Linked DNA regions of Homo sapiens: region 2 is linked to region 1. Evidence: promoter capture Hi-C in human tissues and cell types (Jung and others, 2019). All regions are on one chromosome and are shown on one strand. The core of a region is centred on a gene start or on the middle of the fragment in contact, and the rest is flanking DNA. Distances in the headings are between cores, read along the strand shown.

Region 1 (4,656 bases), core at 1,404-3,903:
GGACCTCCTTAAGCCTCACCACGATGGGCTCCGCTGGGGGGGTGGTGGGGGAAAAGAACCGAGGGTCACCAGAAAGGGCACTGGAGACAAGGGGGAAAGCCCCACCCTCTGTCTGTCTCCCCTTCTCTCTGCCTCTCAGCTTCACCCTAGGACTGTCTGCTTCCCAGGGGCTTCCCCACATAAACACCGTGTAAGGTTCTGGGGGCCAAAAATGCCCTCCCATAGAGGTGAGATGCCTGAGAAGCCCTTTGCGGGACAGGGCATTGGCCCAGAGGGCTCCAAGGGTGTGCAGGATGGTTAGGGTGGGGTAACGGAGTCTGCAGAAGGACAGACCCTAAAGAACAAGGGGAGAAGGAAATAAGACCCAGTTCTTCCACCTTCCACCCTGACTCCAGGTGACAGTTCAGGTGCAGCCAGGGCCCCACCCCCACGTTCTCATGTAGAATGTCCTGGGTAACGGCCCAGACGTGGGGTTGTATCCAGTACCTCTAGATTCAGATGCAGGTGGTTCTTGAACCACACTTTGGAAAACCCTGGATTTGGGGCTGGGGGAAGGAACAGGACAGGGAGACAAAGGTAGCATGGTCACATATCCCAGACTCAAGTGCTCCGGTCCAGCCCATCTCTCAGTCCTCCAGGAGGAGTGCTTTAGTCCTACCCCTTATTTACAGATGACAATCAGGCCTCTCAGAAGTCAAGGTCCTATGACTAGGAATGTTAAACTGGGCAGCCTGGGTGGGGGACCAGCTGGGGTGGAGGCTTGTGGCTCAGGGACTGTGGGGACAGGGAGGCCTGGACTCCCGGGGGTGGAAGAAGTGGAGGCAGGATGGAGAGAGGGATGGGTATGGGAGGGGAGGGAAGGAGAGGAGACAGTGGGTTCTGGAGGAAAGAGAGGGGTTCCGGGGGGTTCCGGGAGAGTGGGCCAGCAGGGACGAACCAGCCAGGGCTGAGGACGGGGGAGGGAGGAGAGAGCCAAGACATTGAGCCCTTTTAAGGCAGCAGGAACCCTGGCCCCCTCCCCCGCCCCAGGCCTGGCAGGGGAGGGGCCGCGAGATGCAGCTCGGGCCACAAAAGGAGTGCTCCTCCCGGGAGCGCCAGACCCCTACCCCACCCGGTCTCAGTTTACCCTGCCAACCCAACTTCATCCTCTACTAAAGGGAGGCCAGGAGAGTCATTAGGGGCTGTGGGAGGTTGGGAGAAGGTTTTTCCAGAGGCTGAATGGCCTGGCCCTTCTTGGCCTCCACCTTCCCATCTGTGAAATGGGAGGAGGAGGGAAAGGAACCAGGCCTGGGTCAGAAAGAGATGGACACAAGAGGAAGCAGGGGAAGGCGGAGAAACAGGAAACAAGTGTCACACACAGTTTGTTACACACAGGCCAAAAACCAAACACCAGTCACTGAGGGCCAGACATATGAGGGCCAGAGGGGCAGGGTGCTGGGAATGAAAGAAACCAGTGACCAGTGAGCCCGAGTCCTGGGCTTGGGGAGGAGGTGGGCAGACAAGGCAGCTGGCAGAAGCGGAAGCATCCTCCTTCCAGCCCTGGCCCCAGGCCCTGGAAAGCCCTTGCAAGAAGGGGTTTTGTGGGACAGCTGGAAGGTTGGAGGCCCTGGGCCAGGAGAACTAAAGGACGCAGGGACCCGGGGTGGCGGGAATGGTGGCTGACCCACACGGCTCATAGGAACCGAGACTTTGGGGCTGGGGGTGGGGGTGGGTGCAGAACCTACAAAAGAAGGAGACACACCCAGAAGAACCCAAAGTTGTCCCTCCTGGATCGCAGAGGAGGGGGCACTGGTGGCGCCTGTCTGCAAAGCTGGTTCTCCCACAGGGCCCGCGTGAGTCACCGCCCTCCCAGTGCCTGGGCACCTGTTGGGGCAGCTGGAGAGGCTGGCGCCGAACACCTGCCTGTCGGCTGCGCCCCTGGCAGCTGCCCCATGCTGGCCCTCCTGGCTTGCCCCAGGCCACAGGAAACCAGGGGAGAGGGCCATAGAGCCCACTTTTGGGGGGAGGGTCCTAGGAGAGGGAGCTCCCAGCATGACCCTGACCCTGACCCTGAGGCGGGGTGCAGAGAGGCCATGGGAGGCTGTTGGCAGCCTAGCCTGCTGTGACTCCTAAGCCATGGCTCTGAGTCACAGCCACCCTAGCCTCTGCTGACCTTACTCTGCCCCTCCAGAGTGGTGGCATAGGACAGAGAAATGTTGCCCCAGGGCCCAGGTCCACACTCTGAGCCCCAGGATGGGAGGATCTCCCCATGCCCATCCTGCCATCCTGCCCCCCCAACAGCCAGGCCTCTGTGCCCAGACCTGTCTCCTGCCCCACCCCCACCCCATCTGCAGGAGCCCCGAGGGTAGGCACTCACCCCACTGCAAGAAGTCGGCCACGTACTTGTCCTGGGCCAGTTCGGAGGCGCCCAGCTCCTGGTGGACGCCCAGGAGAAGGTCGAGCAGGGGCTCCAGCCCCAGGAAGCCCGGGTCCAACACCAGCTGCTGGAGCCGCCTCAGCCGCACCTCGGCTGACATGTTGGACAGGCAGCACCATGGCCCCTCCCCGGGCCGGGGGCTCGGGGTCCTCCTGTCACAGGGCCTGGCAGCCCCTGTCCAGGCCCTGGAGCCCTGGCTGCATGTCTGCCTGTCCCTGGCTGTCCCCTGGGCCTCTCTGGCCACTTCTCTCTGCGGCCGGCCGAGGCCTCCTCCCCTTCTCCCCACCCCTTGGTCCAGCCCCCCTCCCGCCTCCCAGCCTTAACCCCTCACAAGCCAGCCCCCCAAGCTCCCTCCTTCCAGGGCCCTTCAGAACCCTTCAGTGCTAGAGTAGGGGGAATGCATGGAGAATCTCAGCTGTCACACTGTCACCCCAATAAAAAGGTAGAGCACAGAGGAAGCCACAGGTGTGATGAATTTCAAGAAGAACCTGCCCATTGCTGAAACAGGGCCAATTGAGGCTGAGTGACCCAGTAGCAACCACCCCCTTGCTCCCGACAAGCTCCAGAACTGGGGGCTAGGGGGTGAGGGCTGGGGGTTGGGGCTGGGTGGGAGAAAGGGGTTGAGGCCTGGGAAGGGGACGGGAGGCCAGGGCAGCTTCTTGGGTGACTCAGAGATGGATTCCGACTCGGACAGTTAAATTTAGCCCTCAGGCTCTCTGCTTTATACCAGCTTTTTTTTTTTTTTTTTTTTTTTTTCCCAGGAGGTGGGGAAGGGGTGGTGAGGACAGGACCAGGAGGGGGCACCCTCAGAGCCTGAACAGGGGTGACCTGCTGCCCAAAGGCTGGGGGAGGAAAGTGGTGGAGCCAAGCCCTCCCTGGGCAAACGAGACCCCAAAATAGCTCCTTGGCCCCTGGCCGGGGAGCCACATTCCTGCCCAGGCTGGGATTAGAAACAGAAACATTTCGGGGGGTGGAGGGTGGCGCGGGAAGACACACTCCCTGCGGCTCCGAGAGCCAAGAGGAATCTGAGCTCTTCTTTCCAGGGTGGACGGTTCTCCAGAGTGGAAGTCGGGGCCTCCAACCGGCCTGGGGTGCCTGGGCCTTGAGAGGGCCAGGCCTGAGAAACTAGGAGGCAAGGACCGAGGAGTCCCAGCTGGGCAGGGCCTGGGAAACGTGGTCCTGGGCAGTTCTGATAATTTAAAAAACACCGAGGACTTTGATGAGGGGCCCTGGCTGCGGGCAGGATGCTCTTCTCCCCAAGAGGGTCCTGCTCCAGCCGCTGGTGTGGGTCACCAGTTGTGTGACTCGCAGGTCCGTTCCCTCCCTGGGCTCCGGCTTTTCCTGCTATGAAAAGGGGTGGGAGGCGCTGGGCTGGGAGCAGGCCTGCACTCCTCCTCTGGGGAAAGCGGACTGCCTAGAACCACAGAGTACACACACAGGTCCTCTACATCATCTCCTCCGAAGGGGACAGACCCGCTGAGAAAACAGGGAACTTTAGTATAAATAAGAGGTCCTGCGGGACAGGGAGGAACCTGAGGGGCTTCCATAATTTAACACTCTTCAAAAGCACAGACAATAGCAAGGGCAGCTGGGGTGGGGGCCGGGCGAGGGCTGGACCACCCCCGGCCCTGCCCACTCAACTGAGGGGCACACTGCAGACCTGGGGCTCTTGTGGCAGGGGCGGGGAGTCTCTCCCCAGGAGTGACCAGTCACATGCTGGGGACAGGGATGAGGGTAACACTGATGTTTCAGAGGAAGAGGTCATTGTACTTGGCAGTGGGTGGGGGACAAGGCTGAGGCCACAAGGGCTATTACATCGCCCGTGTCCGGGCCAGTCTGGGGGGCCCCCAAATTTTGTGCAGGTGGGGGGACTGGAGCAGTCCATCCATCATGGTTAGTCTTGTTAATACGTTGATCTGTGAGGTCAGCAGGGAGGGTTATGGCTAGGAGGCTGGGGGCATGGGGTTGGGGGGGCCCGATATCCATGGCTTCACACCACTGTGCCACTCGGGGAGTTGCCTGGTTGGGAGGAGATGCCCTGGGGAAGATGAGAGGGAGAGATGGGAGGGGTTAGAGACCACCTGGGCTTCAGCCAGTGTCAAGGGGAGGGAGCCAGCCCAGAGTCCCCAAAGCTGCTGCCACCCTGGCCTTGCCCTTGGGTCCGCCCTAGACCCCCCAGAGGCCACTGCTCTAGGCTGGGAACTTGCATCTTAGCTAGCTTCCTGTCCTGGCAGTCAGCA
Region 2 (4,656 bases), core at 951-3,450, 330 kb after region 1:
GACAAAATATACAGACAATGGCCAGACCACATATAAAAACAGAACTCTGACCCATAACCTACAGCAGCCTGCCTAGGAAATCAACCCACTTTTCTACAATAAACAGCCCAGGAAGCCACTTGCTGTAAGTCACACTTGTAGGAAGTCAGACTTTCTCTGGTAACAATCCAGGAAACTAAACAGTAACTCCAGTAACAGTCAGCTCCAAATGGCCAGGACTTTATTAATAACTGACAACTTCCCAAATTTTTGTTCCTGTTTCTAACTTAGGAGCAACGTAGGAAAGCCAAATACGTACCCTAAACCAATCCCATAGGATGCTGTGCATCTAGTTAGCTATCCTCAGCTTCCCCATGCCAACAGCCTCCAATCAGGGAACATGCGAAAAAAAGGGTGATACCTTTTCCACTATAAAGCTTTCCTACTCCTCTGCTGGTCTTTGAGTCTCTCCCAAAATGGAAGTGATGGTGGCTGACTTCTTTGTTGTAGAATAGATAGCCTTTACTTTCTTATTTGGTTAGTCTTTGTTTTCACAGAAGTTATTGGCGAACTCCATTTATTAAAGTCATGGGTGCTGATATGGTTTGGCTCTGTGTCCCCACCCAAATCTTACCTTGAATTACCCCACATGTTAGGGAGGGACATGGTGGGAGGTGATTGGATCATGGGGGCAGTTTCCCTCATTCTTTTCTCGTGATAGTGAGTGAGTTCTCCTGAGATCTGATGGTTAAAAAGTGTGGCACTTTCTCCTTCTCTCTCTCCTGCCACCATGTAAGATACGCCTTGGTTCCCCTTTGCCTTCTGCCATGATTTTAAATTTCCAGAGACCTTCCCAGCCAAGCGGAACTGTGAGCCAATTAAACCACTTTTCTTTATAAATTACCCAGTCTCAGGCAGCTCTTCATAGCAGTGTGAAAATTGACTAATACAGGTGCTTTTTGAAAATGCAGTTTCCTGGACTCCCCACAGGTTTACAGAATCAGAATCTCTGGGAGTAAGGCCCAGAAATTTGCATTTTCATCCATAGCCCTAGTGGCTCTCATGCATACTAATATTGAGGACCAGTGTCCTAGAATATTTGGTGATTATCTTTCTCTGGCATTTGTATCACACCTATGTTCATCCATAGCCCTAGTGACTCTTGTGCATGCTAATATTGAGGACCAGTGTCCTAGAATATTTGGTGATTATCTTTCTCTGGTTTTCGTATCACAACTATGTTATGTGTATGAAATACCTAACTATCCCCACTTGTGTGTTTCAAAAGGTCCTTTTGCCTACAGGAGCAGGCTAAATCTCATGACATTCCCCACACTCAATCCTCACCCAGAATTCCTGAGCTCTGGGGAAGGTGCCATCTCCAGCCTGGTTTGCAAGCCAGAAACACAGGCTCTCTCTTACAGGGAAAATGAAAATACATTTTAAAAATGTGAATAACCCCCAAAATATCAGGTAAGGCACATAAAACAAAAATAAGGCGGCGTCAGTAGAAAACACAAGACAAAATGAAATGCAGCGAATCACTGGAAATGTTGAGGGAAGTAGCAGTTCTGGGTCAGGGGAGGCAGAAACAGCTACAGCTTGGGAGCTGTGGCCAGTGTGTTCTCTGAGAGGTAGCTATGCAGACCCAAGCTAACAGCCAACCCCAGAAACCTCAGCCTGATTCAGATTCACCTCAGGGTGAATCTGGTGACTCAGCCTGAGTGGGAGCAGTTTCACTACCCGACTCTCTGTGTAATTTAATCTTGTGTTTGCAGCCAATACCTAGCCAATACAGAAAATTAATGTATGGGAGGAGGCCAGCTGCTCTTGACATGGAAAGTTCAGATTATTTTCAAGCTTCAAGAAGGGAACCAGCGACAGGGATAAATGAATGAGTAGAGCCACTTACCAGCAAAAAGCGTTGGAATTTTTTCTATACCACTCCAGCCCCTCATTGCAGGGCTGCTGTAGAGAACTGATGTCCCCAGTTCTGCCCATCTCAGGTATACTCCAGGAGGCTCGCCGGCTGACAGCTTCCTTGCTCTGCCGCCTGTGTGAAGGGGCTGCCACTCTCTGTTCTCAGGTCTTGGTGACTGATGATGGGTCCATTTTTCCTTTTGTTGATGTTATAAGTGGGACTGTTAATTCTATTTTTGGATTGTTCATTTCCCAATCTTTTTTTTTATTATTATACTTTAAGTTCTAGGGTACATGTGCACAACATGCAGGTTTGTTACATATGTATACATGTGCCATGTTGGTGTGCTGCACCCATTAACTCGTAATTTACATTAGGTATATCTCCTCATTTCCCAGTCTTTTAAGACATACCAAATAATTTTCTCTGTGAGTGTGAGCTTACAGAAAAGAGCTCTCGTTGTCTTTCTGGCAGCAACACCGTTGATAATGCATTGCTGGCAATATCTACTTGTGGTTTTCTGTAAAAATGCTGTGAGTTTAAGGACATTTACCTAATAGTCTGACTGGGAAATCCTAGATTTTAGTAATTAAAAAAATACATTGCTTTGCCTCTAGCAAATAAGAACAATGTCTCTTTGCTGATTCAGATATATTGAATCTTTCCAAAGCATTTGCTTTAGTTAAAGCAATTTTTGATTAGTATTATTCTAATTAGAACAATTTTTAAATTTTTACAGATGAGGTTTCACTCTGTTGCACAGGCTAGTCTCGAAATTCTGGCCCCAAGGAATCCTCCTACCTCAGCCTCCTGGGTTGTGGGGATTACATGTGCTTGCTACTGAAGCGGGCCAATTAGTATTTTTTTAATGGACAAGTTATAATTGTGTGCATTTATTTGATACAATGTGATGTTCTAATTCATGTAACGGAGTTCTGGGAAAGTCATACCAACCTACAGTGGTACCTTTGTGGAAAGATTAAATCAAGCTAATTAACATACCCATTACCTTGCTTATTATTTTTAGTTTTAATAGAGCCAGTAAATCTTTTCACACTCGAATTTAACTTATATTAAATTATTTATATTGTACAACTTACACAAGTTAAATTAATTAACTTGTTTATCTTATATTAAATTAGGCAATTATAATAACTAGTAAAAATTTTATATACTGGTTTGGCATAAACTTAATTGATTGGAGTAAAAGTAGGCAAGGATTTGATTCTAAAATGAAGCCTTAAAATCTTGAGCTTTATTTTGACTATTTTTTTCTCATTATGTAAGGTACTTTATTATTTATTTTTAAAATAATTTTAAGCTTTAATTGAGCTAAGCCTATTCAGTAAGTTTTTCAGTATACCTAGAGAATAAAGGTTAATTGAGGCTGCAGTTAGGAAGATTTCTCTCTTTTTAAATTTTTATATTTTGTAGATATTTTGTAGGTATGAGGTGTCACTATGTTGCCCAGGCTGGTCTTGAACTCCTGGCCTCAAGTGATCATTTTACTTCTGCCTCTCAAAGTGCTAGGATTACAGGTGTGAGTCATTGCACCAGGCCAAGAAGAATTCTCTTAAAAGTCAATTTTTTTTTCTGATTGAATTGGTGGTTTCCAGTCCCTTCTTTTTTGTTGTTTTTTGTTTGTTTGTTTGCTTGCTTGCTTGATTTTTTTAGAGACAGAATTTGTGCTGTCACCCAGGCTAAAGTGCAGTGGTATAATCATAGCTCACTGCAGCCTCAAACTCCTGGGCCCAAGGGATCCTCCCACGTCAGCCTCTCAAGTAGCTGGGACTACATGCATGTGCCATCAAGCCTGGCTAATTTTTTTGTATTTTTAGTAGAGACGGGGTTTCACCATGTTGGCCAGGATGGCCTCGATCTCTTGACCTCGTGATCCACCCACCTTAGCCTCCCAAAGTGGTGGGATTACAGGTGTGAGCCACCGCGCCCGGACTACCATCTGTTCATTTTTAAAATGAATCTTGCTTGGGACTACAGGCCCCAGAATGGAGATAGCACTTCTTCCTGCAGGAACCAGGGACCACCTCACTCTCTTGACACTACAGAGCCTGCCTTCCTTAGCCCCTGCTTGTTAGGTGCTCCTAAATGCAACCTTTGTGGCCATACTTAGCATGCAGTGTCCTCCCTCAGGCTGTGAGCATACGTGGGGCTAATAATCTACTGTTGATTTTATCCACCCAGAATTAACGTCCTGTGTTTTGCCATCCCCACAGCCCTAGGGTGGGCATCCTTTTCTTATAAACAAGGTAAACAGGAGGCAATTAAAACAATAAAAAATTTTAAAGAGAAGTTTAGTGTTCATAAATGTCTTTAACATTAAACCACCGATAGTCTAGAGGCAGCCTTTCAAACTTCTATAAATTGGAATAGACTTTGGAGATGAATCATAACGGCTGAATAGATGCAGGTATGTTTGTCTCCCCCACAGAGAAAACCAGAATAGCAAGTAGATACTCACATTTCAAACAAATGGTCTAGGAGAGAATGCTGAGGTTCACCAGAGAAGAGATGGGAAGCACCAGAAGTAAGAAAAGGGTTTGAGGCAGCTTGCCCACCTGGGATTGACTGAGCTGGGAGAGGCTCCTGGAATGTGTGGGGAAGCAGTAAGAGAGAAAGCCCCTGGGCTCCACACTCCTAGACAGGCTTTTATAATCTTGGCTGTGGGAGAAACCCCGGACTCATTAGGGCCTCCGGCCTGACATATGAAGCTGCCCAAAGATGTTGCTCCAGAAAGG

What was found. Contacts are between HindIII fragments. The study calls those that stand out against the background at their distance.
Region 2: a contact is called between a fragment that was not itself captured here and the fragment with the promoter of DMPK in region 1, in 1 of the 25 tissues and cell types used here (lymphoblastoid cells).

What each region holds. Positions count from the first base shown.
Region 1 is chr19:45,779,837-45,784,492 of GRCh38, forward strand. It overlaps DMPK (DM1 protein kinase), which reads right to left and starts at 2,654. Exons shown (of 15, transcript NM_004409.5): 1 at 2,357-2,654; 2 at 1-33. The coding sequence starts at 2,516. DMWD (DM1 locus, WD repeat containing) reads right to left here. Exons shown (of 5, transcript NM_004943.2): 5 at 3,111-4,454. The coding sequence ends at 4,407. The HindIII fragment of the contact is 9,498 bases long and covers 1-3,920 here.
Region 2 is chr19:46,113,925-46,118,580 of GRCh38, forward strand. It overlaps a transcript of IGFL2 not described here. Among named protein-coding and RNA genes, the nearest start is that of IGFL3, 8.4 kb to the right of the region's middle. The HindIII fragment of the contact is 4,320 bases long and covers 41-4,360 here.